3 separate regions of the Homo sapiens genome follow, and all the other regions are linked to region 1. The links are contacts of gene promoters, found by promoter capture Hi-C in blood cells and fetal thymus (Javierre and others, 2016). All regions are on one chromosome and are shown on one strand. The core of a region is centred on a gene start or on the middle of the fragment in contact, and the rest is flanking DNA. Distances in the headings are between cores, read along the strand shown.

Region 1 (4,104 bases), core at 1,453-3,952:
AAATGTTAGCTATTATTACTTAATACAGTATATATCAAAGAAAATATTTGCTAAATGAATACACTGTTCACAAATTATTAAAAACATATTTTAATAATGCTAACCTCATATAATTCATTATATTTCCAACTAAAGTATATAATTATATAAGGAGGTTTCAGTTTAAATCATGTCCATGGCACTGAAGTTTCTTATAGACAATATTTAGTTGAGTTATAAAGCAGAATGTTCAAAAAGAATGACCTGTGCCTCATTTTCAGGAACAATTTGTTTATGAAGTCGAATCTGCTCCAAGCCAGGACTTTCTAGAGAATTTGGGGAAGTGTTACAAATTGAGGCAGTTACATTATACCTTGCTGACTGATAAAAGCTGTAGTATTCAAGTCTATTTTCCCTTGAGTTTTCTGATGCCTTTAGTTTTTGTTTAAACTGAACAACTTTGTAGATCAAAAAAATGATTAAAACACAAGCTAAGATGAAAAAAGCTAGCAAAATGTCAAAAGCCTCATTCAACTTCTCAACTTCTTGTGTACAAATTAGAGATGTTTTCCCTGACATTGAAGCAGCATCATTCGGTAGAGCACTGTTTTTTTCCAAGTTCAAGGTAACAGAAGTAGTAAGTTGTATTTGCACAGGTAACACTGCTGTAGTCTCTAATGGATTACCAAAGGCATTCTCTTGAAAAAATCTACCAGCAGGTGAAGTAGGAATTCGTTCCCAGAAAGTAATGTTCTCAGTCTCAGTATTTTCCAGAGGACTGCCATTTGTGGTTACTTTATGCCAGGCCATCATTAGCGCAGTAGTCTTGTGATGAATATGAGGAGATTTTACAACAGCCCAAGCTCTGGATACATTTATTGAAGATGTAACACAATTTGTAATGTTAATATAACGTAATGCTCTGCCACGCATGGATGGGGGATTCTGACAATAGATGTTTAGAGTAATGGCTGAAGATGCTAGCCAGTCTCGAAGGCCCAAAAGTTTGCAGTTACATTCCCAAGGATTAGAATTTGCCTGAAGATGAATCAATGAAGACAACGGCTTAAGGACCCTTGGATGCAAGGCTGTAAGATTATTAAATGACAGATTAAGGATCTTCAAAGATGCTCCCATATTTTCAAATGTATCATTATCAATGCTAATTATTCTGTTTCTATCTAACTTAAGGTAAATTAAATTCTTTAACAAACTGAATGTGTCAGAATTTAAATTCTCTAAATCATTATGACTTAAGATCAAATGTTTAAGATTATTAATTCCACTAAACCCATCCCTAGTAACATTCCTAATTCTTGAATTTTTCAGGAGGAGGTATTCCAGATTGGCAAGTCCTTTAAATGCAAAGGGCTGTATTGCTTCAATAGGATTATGAGACAAAGAAAGTCTTCTAAGACTTTTAAGTACTTCAAAGGCATTTGATGGTACTTTTGTTAAATTATTACTTCCTAAATACAAACAAGCAAGGTTTTCAAGATGTTGAAAGCCTGATTCTGATATCCTCAAAATGTTATTGTTTGATAAATCAAGTATCCGAAGAGCAACCATACCAACAAAGGTACCACTCCCAAGGACAGTGAGGCGATTCCTTTGTAGATTTAAGTACTGAACTGAAACTAGATCATTAAATACTCCTCTCGGAACAAAAGATACCTGATTATACTGTAAATATAAATTACGAAGATTTAAAAGTCCCTTAAATATTCCAGGATCTAAGCGTTTGATGAAATTATTATTTAGAAATAGAAAATATAGATGCCTCAATTGAACAAAGGCTTTTGGATATACATACAGAATGTTAGAATTATCCAAATACAATGCTACAAGAGAATGAAGTCCTGTTAATTCACTTTCATTTATATAAGATATATTATTCCCAGTCAGATACAGAAAAACTGTACTTTCAGGAAAATTCTTAGGAATACTCGAAAGGCCTAAGTTACGGCAGTTAATTTGTCTCCCAGTGCAGAGCTGACAAACAGACGAACATCCAAGTATTTCTTTGTGGAGTAATAATAAAAGATAACAGGTAACAACCAGAAACAGTCGTAGGCAAGGCAGAGAAAACTGTAATCCACACATATCCCTGTTCTTGGATTTTCTGTTCAGATCAGAATTGGCTATAAAAAGAGAAGGTAAAGCTTTAAATCACGAAAACTTCATCAAATGAATTTTTTTTATAATACTATAACTTCTGTATTCTATTTTAATTAGGATCAGCCAATAATACTATCATAAATCATACCATGGTAATAGCAAAAAATAATGAGTATGGAATACGTTCTAGAATTATTAACATGATCAGGCCATTAACCCACTATTTGACAAAATAGTTCAGATTAATGAAACATTTGCTAAGTTAACTTAAAAATTACAATTGATTACAACACAGGTGACAAATGATGTAGGAATGAGAATCTTTGAATTTAATATGTCCCTTTAACAACATAAAGTCTAATATCAAATAACATTATAATTTATGAAAATACAAATTCACTACAGAACAATTAAATTCTAAATTACAGTTTTTCACAGAACTATTTTTCATGTCAGCTAGAAGTTCATATTTAAGTAAATAATCTTACCAAGAAAAGGAAATTCGTATTATTAACACTCAGCTGATTCAGTAAAGGTTTTCTTTTTAAATCTGAAGAACGACATTTCTTAACTCCAGTTTGTTCTGTGGCACTGCTGACCTCCACCCCACCACTTTTTTTTTTTTTTTTTTAAGTCACCGTTTGCTCAGGAAACACCACTCTTCACATTGGTTCCTTTACAGTCAATGTGTAAAACAGAGGTTGCCATGGATACAGGAAGCTAAGAGACAGGAAGTAATTTTATCTGTGTTTCAAAAGTATTGCTGAACGGAAATCTCAGGAACTTATTTTTTCAGAATGCAGTTAGAGTTTTCCTAATATACACATTGAAATATCTCCTATAATATAAAAATAATAGTTTTTAAAGGATACTTGAAAACATTAGTTATTCAGAACCCAAATATCAATCAACAGACTCTAGCTATCAAACAACATAGCTACTGAATGGAAAAGGCTAGTTCAAATAAGATGTATATCGAGTAATACAATTTTTTGTAAACTTTTTAATGAATAAAATATTTATGTTGTGTTAAATACGCATTGAAGACTTAAACTTTATGCTTTATTCCTTTAATAAAAATAGGGGAAAAAATTTAGAATGAACATAAATGTTGTTATATTATCCTCCAGTGCTCTTTTTAAAATTTTCAAAATATTTTTGGTTGCAAAAAATACTGAGTACTACTTAATACGTGAGGTACTAATTGGTAGTAAGCTACTAATTAGTAGTAACGCACTAATTGGTTGTGTTGGGTTATAAGATGTTAAGAAGCTGCATACCAACTTACTGACATAGGTTATCTTTGCAAGAAAAATTGGGGAGAGTAAAAGAGGCGATGTTTCGCCCTATATATATCTGTATCAGTTTGAATCTTTTAGAACAAAAATGGAGAATTTTTTAACGTCATTTTTCAAGAATTTAAAGAATCGGATATAAATTGTTTATATTATATATTGTTCAGTCATTAACTTTCTTTCATTAACTTTAAGCTAGTTGCTTAAGCTTTCTAATTCTGACTTTTATTAATATTACTAATAGCCTGATAATATTCCTAAAATATCAAGTTATATAATTGTATACAACTCTCCTTTGATATTAAAGCAGTTTCATTTCACATCAACAATTACTTTAGAAATAATATGAATTATGTCCATATTAGAAAGCTGAAATAATACCTAGCATTATCTTTCTATGACTAAAAATTCAGCAATGCATACTGGATAGCAGATCGTTATCAAAATGACTTATGATTCTTACACCTATCCATTATGGCTGGTTACTGTTATTGCTATTTTATGCATTAAAAATGGAAAACAAAACAAGTGACAGAAATGATATGAATTTGAGGTAGGGGCTATGTTTCTCAGGTCCATTTTGTTTAGTACTTCCAATAATATACAAGGTGATATGAAGCTTGTCCCATGGATTTTTCAATTTCTTGGGAAAAATTCAGAGAAAGGGTCCTTTGAAATAAAAATAAAATTAAAGAGAAAAAACCCACAAAGT
Region 2 (3,841 bases), core at 734-3,233, 270 kb after region 1:
GTGCAGTGGCATGATCATAGCTCACTGCAGCCTCCAACTCCTGGGCTCAACCAGTCCTCCCACTTCATCCTCCTGAGTAGCTGGGGCTACAGTCACATGCTACCAGGCCTGGCTAATTTTATTTTTTGTAGAAATAGAGCCTCATCATGTTGCCCAGGCTGGTATCCAACTCCTGGCTTCAAGCAATCCTCCTGCCTAGGCCTCCCAAAGTGCTGGGATTACAGGCATGAGACACCACACCGAGCCAGTCTCTATTTACAAGTACCCAAACCCAGGATATCTAGAGAGAAACCTGCTGTCAGGTGCTGGTCTGCCAAAAACTTTAAATTGAATAAATTTGACCAGGTATGGTGGCTCACACCTGTAATCCCAGTACTTTGGGAGGCCAAAGAGGGAGAATTGCTTGAGGCCAGGAGTTCAAGACCAGCCTAGTCAACATAGCAAGACCCCATCTCTACAAACAATACAAAAATTAGCTAGGCATGGTTGTGCATACCTGTAGTCCTAGCTACTTGGGAAGTTAAGGTGAGAGGATTGCTTGAGTCCAGGACTTGGAGGCTGCAGTGAGCTATGATCATGCCACTGCACTCCAGCCTGGGTGACAGAGCAAAACCCTAAAAAAAAATTCCTTTTGATACCAAAACAATTTAAAAGTTATAAACTTATAACTCAAATAGGTACTAGAGTATAGGAAATAGGCTAATAATGACAATGCCAATTTCAATTGGCAGACTAGGGCTATTAGGGCTGATAATGCTGTATTAAGAACTCTGAGGCTGGCCGGGCGCAGTGGCTCAAGCCTGTAATCCCAGCATTTTGGGAGGCTGAGGTGGGTGGACCACGAGCTCAGGAGTTCAAGACCAGCCTGGCCAACATGGTGAAACCCCATCTCTACTAAAAATACAAAAAAATTAGCCGGGCATGTTGGCGCATGCCTATAATCCCAGCTACTTAGGAGGCTGAGGCAGGAGAATCGCTTGAACCCAAGAGGCAGAGGTTGCAGTGAGCCGAGATCACGCCACTGCACTCCAGCCTGAGCAACAAGAGCGAGACTCCCTCTCAAAAAAAACTCTGAGGCTAAATTCATCAGGAATGCTATGAGGGATCACGGATATTGGTCATAGAGGAGGAGAGATGGCATATATGACATGTATTTTCCATCCAAAAGGTCCATAACTTCAAGAGTCTAACAAAAAAGCCTAATCTTCAAAAGGAAGGTAGTAATAATGTACACACAAAATGGCATATTTCTATCAGTACTAATCACACTATAGATGAATCACTTATTTACTTGTTTGTGAGGGCAGGAACTATTTTTGCTTTATTCATTTTTTGTATCTCCAACACCTATCAGAATGCCTGATATATAGCAGGCTGTTAATAGAAGTATATTCAATGAAATCTGCAATAAAAAAAAAAGAAACATAAGACCACATTATTTTGATATGTCATAATCACTTAAGGTCTATACTCCAAAATATCACACACCCTAGTGAATGACCATCTGAACTTCGTGTTTTATTGTAGTGGGTAATGATATCATAGTGCACTATAACCTCAAACTCATAGGCTCAAGCAATTCTCCTGCTTTGGCCTCCAAAGTGCTGGAATTACAGGCATGAACTACCATGCTCAGCCTAGAAGCATGACTTTTAAAAGGAACACTTCCCTCACTCATATTACTCTTGGGAGATAGTTTAATATGGTGAAATTCTAATGTCTCTTTTCACTTAGCACTATAAAACCACTAATATTGCTTTATCTAAAAGAGCTGGAAGACAACTTAACCTGTATTTGTTCTACAACTGAACCAGAAGAATAAAAATTAGTTTTATCCAAGGTTTAAAACTTGTATCTATTCTTAAGAATCGTAATCTCAAAACAAACAAACAAATAAACAAACACCTTAAAATTATTTTAGGTTACAAAACAGATGTGTTAAAATTAAAGCAGATGGCTGAATCCAAGAATTAAACTTTGCAAAAGATTAATGTCATATTAATCACAACTATACTTCTGACTAGAAAGAACGGGGTCTAGATGATCTCTCAGGGAATCTTGTTCTGGATTTTCCACACTCTTGCCCCTTGTCTTATTTGAGCAGACACAGATTTAACTGGCTCTTTGCTGTTTTCTCTAGCATTTTAACAATCATGACACATAAAACAAGTTGACACATAGCCTTTCCCCAGAGTTTCAAAATCTTTGTCATAAGAATCAAGTGGCTAGGCAATGAATACAGATTCCTGGCTTTCTGTGGTACTTTTGGAAGCAATAAGTGCCTATTTTAAGTTTTTTGAGCTTCTTTGGTAGTAGTGGAAAGAATTTTACTACAGGGGTTTGTATGTCTCAGAAAGAAATACTAAAGTATACAACTTCACACCATAATCAGCAAACATCTGTCAGCAGCACTTAGAGAGCTGGGAGTGAAGGGATTCGGGCTTTGGCCCAGGCTATGCTCCTTATTAACCATGTGATCTTGGCAAATAATCCAACCTCAGATTCTTCACCTATAAACCAATAATCTGCCACCTTTCTATCCTGCTTACCTCATAGAGTTCCTGTGAAGATCCAATTAGCTAACATGTCTTGAAGCACTTGGAAAACTATTAAGCCCTAACAAATCCATATACAGAAACATTATCGTCCTAGTCCTCAGGGAAAAGGGAACTATTAGGTCACAAATGCCCCTATTCCATCCCACCCCCATAATCAATCACATAATTGTACCTAAAGAACAACTGTATTGCCACATGGTTCATCTTTATTACTTAAATTTACACATGCTATTCTCCAGAAGCCTATATAGTGACGTGTAAAGATGAACTAGCAGAAGAAAAATGTGGCAAAGCATATAAAGAATTAGGCCATTTAAAATCTTTTCTAAAGATTTTCTTTGCCTGCCCTGAACTCCAAAATTCCTGATGGGTCCTTTGAAATCTTCAATTGCCTCTTGATTTCAGATGTTAAAAGGAACTCTTTACACCAATACTTAACTAAGAAACAAGAATACTTTCCTCCCACAATTTTAGGTTTGGTGAACTTGTAGTAACATAGCACTTCTTACCAGGGATCATTCTAATCAAGCTCTGTAACACTGCTCGCTGGTGCCTTTCTCCGAAGTAAGAAGCAATTTCCTACATCTTGACTGGGCTGTAAAAAGCGGTATACGGTTCCAAAATAACAGAGAATTCCTCCTTTACTGTCATAGTTCTTGATAGTCTGATTTCTATGCTAAGCATGTCAGGTTCCTGGCTGCCATTGACAAGTTGTATGAATCTAGATAAGTCACTTATGGTGATCTGGGACTCAAGTTTCCACATTTATAAAAATGAAAACTAGTTTATCTCCAAAAACCTTTCTGGTGGAAATATTCTAAGATTCTCTTCAGATTACATGTATCAATACAGTCACAGTACTGTGACTAAGAGACCCGCCCCCAAAGAACAATCCCATATTAGCTGCAGCTTCCAAATGTTCAACATTTCCCATTTCTTCCCCAGTCCCCAAAGGGTAGTCACAGCTACTACAGAACTGTTAACAGCACAGCTAAAAGAAAAAAAAAACCAAACTAGCTACACGACAGAAAGATTGTAGGTTTTTTTAAGAGTCAGTGGGTTTTAAAAAGGGAAAGGAATTGAATCAGAAAAATAGGAAGACACATGTAAGAAAACACACCAGTCCAATTTCATACCAGGTTATCTCCTGTGGCAGAGAATAATCTTAGCAGTCCAAGCCTAACCCCTGTCACTGATAACCTTAGAAAACCAGAAAAGTCAGATTAACCTTAGCAGATCACTCAATTTCAATTAACGCTGTAGTTCCTGACTAACAGGCCAGC
Region 3 (3,754 bases), core at 674-3,173, 370 kb after region 1:
TCTGAAATCAGCATCAGCATTCTGCAGCCCACATGCCAATGGTGACTGGAAAGATAACTGAGTGGCAAATGGAGGGGAGGAGGGGTTTCTACTCCAAGCCCTTGGCAGGTGATTGCAAAACAGATGGCTTATCCCAGTTTCCCTCCAACCTCCAGCATCCCGCTCTCATGGGTCTCCCCGGAACCCGGGCTGTCCTGTCATCCTAGGACATGCCTACCACTCCTAAGCTCTTGCAACAAAATGATTCCCCTTCTTCTCTAATCAAAACTTTCTTTTCTTTATTCTGAAAATAACTAATAATGCATTTTTCTTCTCTTTTTTGGGAAAAAGTTTAGTTTATTTACAGTTGATGAAGGAAAGCTTCTTTTTACAGAAGAATGCCAGCTAAAAAATATAAAAGAAAAGATTGAATTAAAAAATGTGTCCATTTTGCACTTCCTAATGACAAATTAAATGCTAAAACCATTAACCGAAAGATGGTTGGGGGACAGTATATTCTCAAAGCATCAAAATAACACCCCACAGATTGCTTGCTAATTGCAAAAGGAAGACCACGCCATTACAGTGGAGGTATCTGGCCATCACTACTTTAACTGAGATCAAGTTCCTTGCCTTAATAATGGGAAGCCAACACTCCCTCTGTCCCTGATGTGTTACAATGTGAGGTGCACAGTGTAACTCATGAAGTATTCTTCTTAAACACATTTCACCTGGCTGTAGTCAAACCTTTGATTTAACTTCCAGTTTACAAGAAATTCAGGGGACAGAAAATTAACACCAGGAACAAACAGACAAATCTAGAATGAAACTCAATCAGTCAATTAATTTCTTCTAAAGATCAATGTCATTAAAACAGAAACGTTGGGAGGGACTGCTCTGAATCAAATGAGACTAAAAGGACTTGATTGGATCTTGGTTAAAAAACCTCATAAAACTATACAAGATGTGTTTGGCACAATTGGAGAAATTTGAATCTGGACTGAGAATAGCCATCGTCAGGGAATTATTAATTTTATTATGTGTGTGTGTCAACTATCAATTGCCTCAGCTCCAATTCACACTTCAGTACTGCTCTACAATAATGGACTGGACTCTCCAAGTATTTCTTCTTTATTAGCATGATGTTAACTTTGTCAATAGAGGGCACAGGAGGGATACTGTGGGAGGAAGGGGGCTTTGTTTCCTCCTTTTGGAGTGCTATGTTTTGCTTTTTTTGCTCCAGCTGTCCAATTGGTCAGTGGTGCATGTGTGTCTGGGTACATCTGGTGGTACACTGCCGCAGCTGCATGCCAGATCCTGACCTTCCAGCCTCAGTCCAGACCAGGTGAACTCCTTTGATGTGACTCCCAACAACACTGTGTGCTCCAACCTTGTGTGTGTGGAGCCGTTCTGACTTTGTCTGCAAACCTGCCCTCCAGCCTTGGCTCTGGGTGTGTGTGTGTTTGTATGGGAGAGGGAGGTGGGTTATTTTCTGCTTTCCTGGCGACTGCGGACTAGATCTGGCCCAGAAAACCCAGCAGACTTCTCCACTATCTATTGGCTGCAACCATGCCTTCTCCAATGAGGTCTGAACCCAGGCGTGTTTGCATCCCTCTTCCAAGCTGGTCCTTCCCTGGGTACTCTCACTCAGCTCTAGTGGATTCAGTAGAGTTATCTTGACATCTTTTTTTTTTTAAGTTGAGATGGAGTTTCGCTCTATCACCCAGGCTGGAGTGCAATGGCACGATCTCAGCTCACTGCAACCTCCACCCCCAGGGTTCAAGCGATTCTCCTGCCTCAGCCTCCTGAGTAGCTAGGACTACAGGCCCCCACCACCATGCCCAGCTAATTTTTGTATTTTTTTTTTTTTTTAGCAGAGACGGGTTTTCACCATGTTGGTCAGGTTGGTCTCGAACTCCTGACCTTATGATCTGCCCGCCTCGGGCTCCCAAAGTGCTGGGATTACAGGCGTGAGCCACCGTGCCTGGCCCGACATCTTTATAATTACTTTTCAATTATATCTCTATCTATCTATCTATCTATCTATCTAATCTATCTATATATGTTTAAATGACAAGGTATCATTCTGTTGGCCAGGAGGCTGGAGTGCAGTGGCACGATTGTAGCTCACTTCGGCCTCATGATCCTCCTGCCTCAACCTCCCAAGGTGCTGGGATTACAGCCTTGAATCATCATGCCTGGCCCCTTAATAATTCTTTTGTTTGTTTTGAGGCAGGCTCTTCAGCCCAGGATGGAGAATGCAGTGGGTGATCATGGCTCATTGCAGCCTCAACCTCCCAGGCTCAAGCAATCCTCCTGTCCCAGCCTCCCGAATAGCTGGGACTACAGGCATGTGCCACCATGCCCAGCTAATTAAAAAAAATGTTTTGTAGAGATGGGGCTTCACAGTGTTCCCTAGGCTGGTCTCAAACTCCTGGGCTCAAGTAATTCTCCTCCCTTGGCCTCCTAAAGTGCTAGGACTACAGATGTGAGCCACCATGCCTAGCCTAATAATTATTTTAAACTTCCTCTTTCAAATAACTGTGTGTTTTCTGTCTCCTGATTGAACTCAGACAGATATACTATGATGCTGATATTGTGGTTATCAAGGAGAAGGTTCTAGTTTTCAGAATACTCACTGAAAATATTCAGTGATAAAGGATCATGCTGTCTGCAACTTATTTCAAATGGCTCAGCAATATGTGTGTGCACATATTGATTTATCCATATGCATGCATGCATGAGCATGTGTATGTATGTATATGAATAAGGTAAATAAGTGACACACAAAATATTAGCAATTACTGAATCTAGCGGAAGGGCATATGTGTGTTTATAATACCCATTCTTCCAACATTTTTGTATAAATAAAAATTTTCATGACCAGGTGTGGTGGCTCATGTCTGTAATCCCAGCACTTTGGGGACCAAGGCAGGAGGACCACTTGAGGCCAGGAGTTTGAAACTAGCTTGGGCAACATGGTGACACCTCGTCTCTCTCCTGCCATGCACACACACAAAATTAGCGGGGTATGGTGGCGTTTGCTTATAGTCCCAGCTTCTTGGGAGGCTGAGGCGGGAGGATTGCTCAAGCCCAGGAGATCAAGGCTGCAGTGGCTATGATCACACCACTGCACTCCAGCCTGGGTGACAGAGTGAGACCCTGTCTCAAAAATTTTTTTTTTCATAATTAAAAATTGAGGAGGAAATTCTTGCCTTCCTTCAGTATCTTTGCTTATGTGAAGGGGGAGAGATTCGGATTGTCTTACTGAAATAATGTGTTCCTAGTAGGAGTGATTGGAAGACTAAGCCCAACTTCTTAACCCTGGCTATGTACTCAGAAGAGTCTGGGCAACTTTTAACATGACACACACAAAGTTTTTGAATCACACTGTCTAGGATCTGGTTATTTCACACGCATACTCAGGACTCACACAACAGTTTTTGAATCAGAGTCTCTAGGATCTGGTTATTTCAAGAAGAATTAAAATTCTAAAGGAGAAGCTTATTGATCATTAGGGTAAGGGTAGGGTGCCTAGCTAACTTCTGGGGGGACATTTCACAAATTACATTTGTCTGTTCCCCAATATTCTGATGTTTCTTAAGGGGCAAGGCAGAATTTGAGGAAAAGGTTGTAGTTAGCTCCTCCCCATTCAACTGACTTGTCCTTTTAGTTGAAATCCACAGATCCAAATGGATCTTTAATTGATAATGTATGTGGCTGAGAATTTGAGCAGAGCCTTCTGGCATGCTCTGCTAGTTGTCCCATCATATGC

What was found. The method cuts DNA at HindIII sites, captures the fragments that hold promoters and counts their contacts. A CHiCAGO score of 5 or more calls a contact.
Region 2: a contact is called between a fragment that was not itself captured here and the fragment with the promoter of LRRC70 in region 1, in 1 of 17 cell types (fetal thymus). The highest score is 5.8, in fetal thymus.
Region 3: a fragment that was not itself captured here is called in contact with the fragment with the promoter of LRRC70 in region 1 in 2 of 17 cell types (naive CD8 T cells and naive CD4 T cells); the score reaches 5.0 in naive CD8 T cells.

What each region holds. Positions count from the first base shown.
Region 1 is chr5:62,577,417-62,581,520 of GRCh38, reverse strand. LRRC70 (leucine rich repeat containing 70) reads right to left here and starts at 2,702. Exons shown (of 2, transcript NM_181506.5): 1 at 2,586-2,702; 2 at 75-2,120. The coding sequence starts at 2,082. The coding sequence ends at 214. All of the region lies in intron 27 of IPO11 (importin 11), which reads right to left. IPO11-LRRC70 (IPO11-LRRC70 readthrough) reads right to left here and starts at 2,786. Exons shown (of 4, transcript NR_073584.1): 1 at 2,586-2,786. The HindIII fragment of the contact is 1,459 bases long and covers 2,144-3,602 here.
Region 2 is chr5:62,310,590-62,314,430 of GRCh38, reverse strand. All of the region lies in intron 1 of KIF2A (kinesin family member 2A), which reads right to left. Among named protein-coding and RNA genes, the nearest start is that of KIF2A, 6.3 kb to the right of the region's middle. RefSeq lists an enhancer at 1-69. The HindIII fragment of the contact is 5,853 bases long and covers 1-3,841 here.
Region 3 is chr5:62,209,131-62,212,884 of GRCh38, reverse strand. No RefSeq gene overlaps it. Among named protein-coding and RNA genes, the nearest start is that of KIF2A, 95 kb to the left of the region's middle. The HindIII fragment of the contact is 3,122 bases long and covers 363-3,484 here.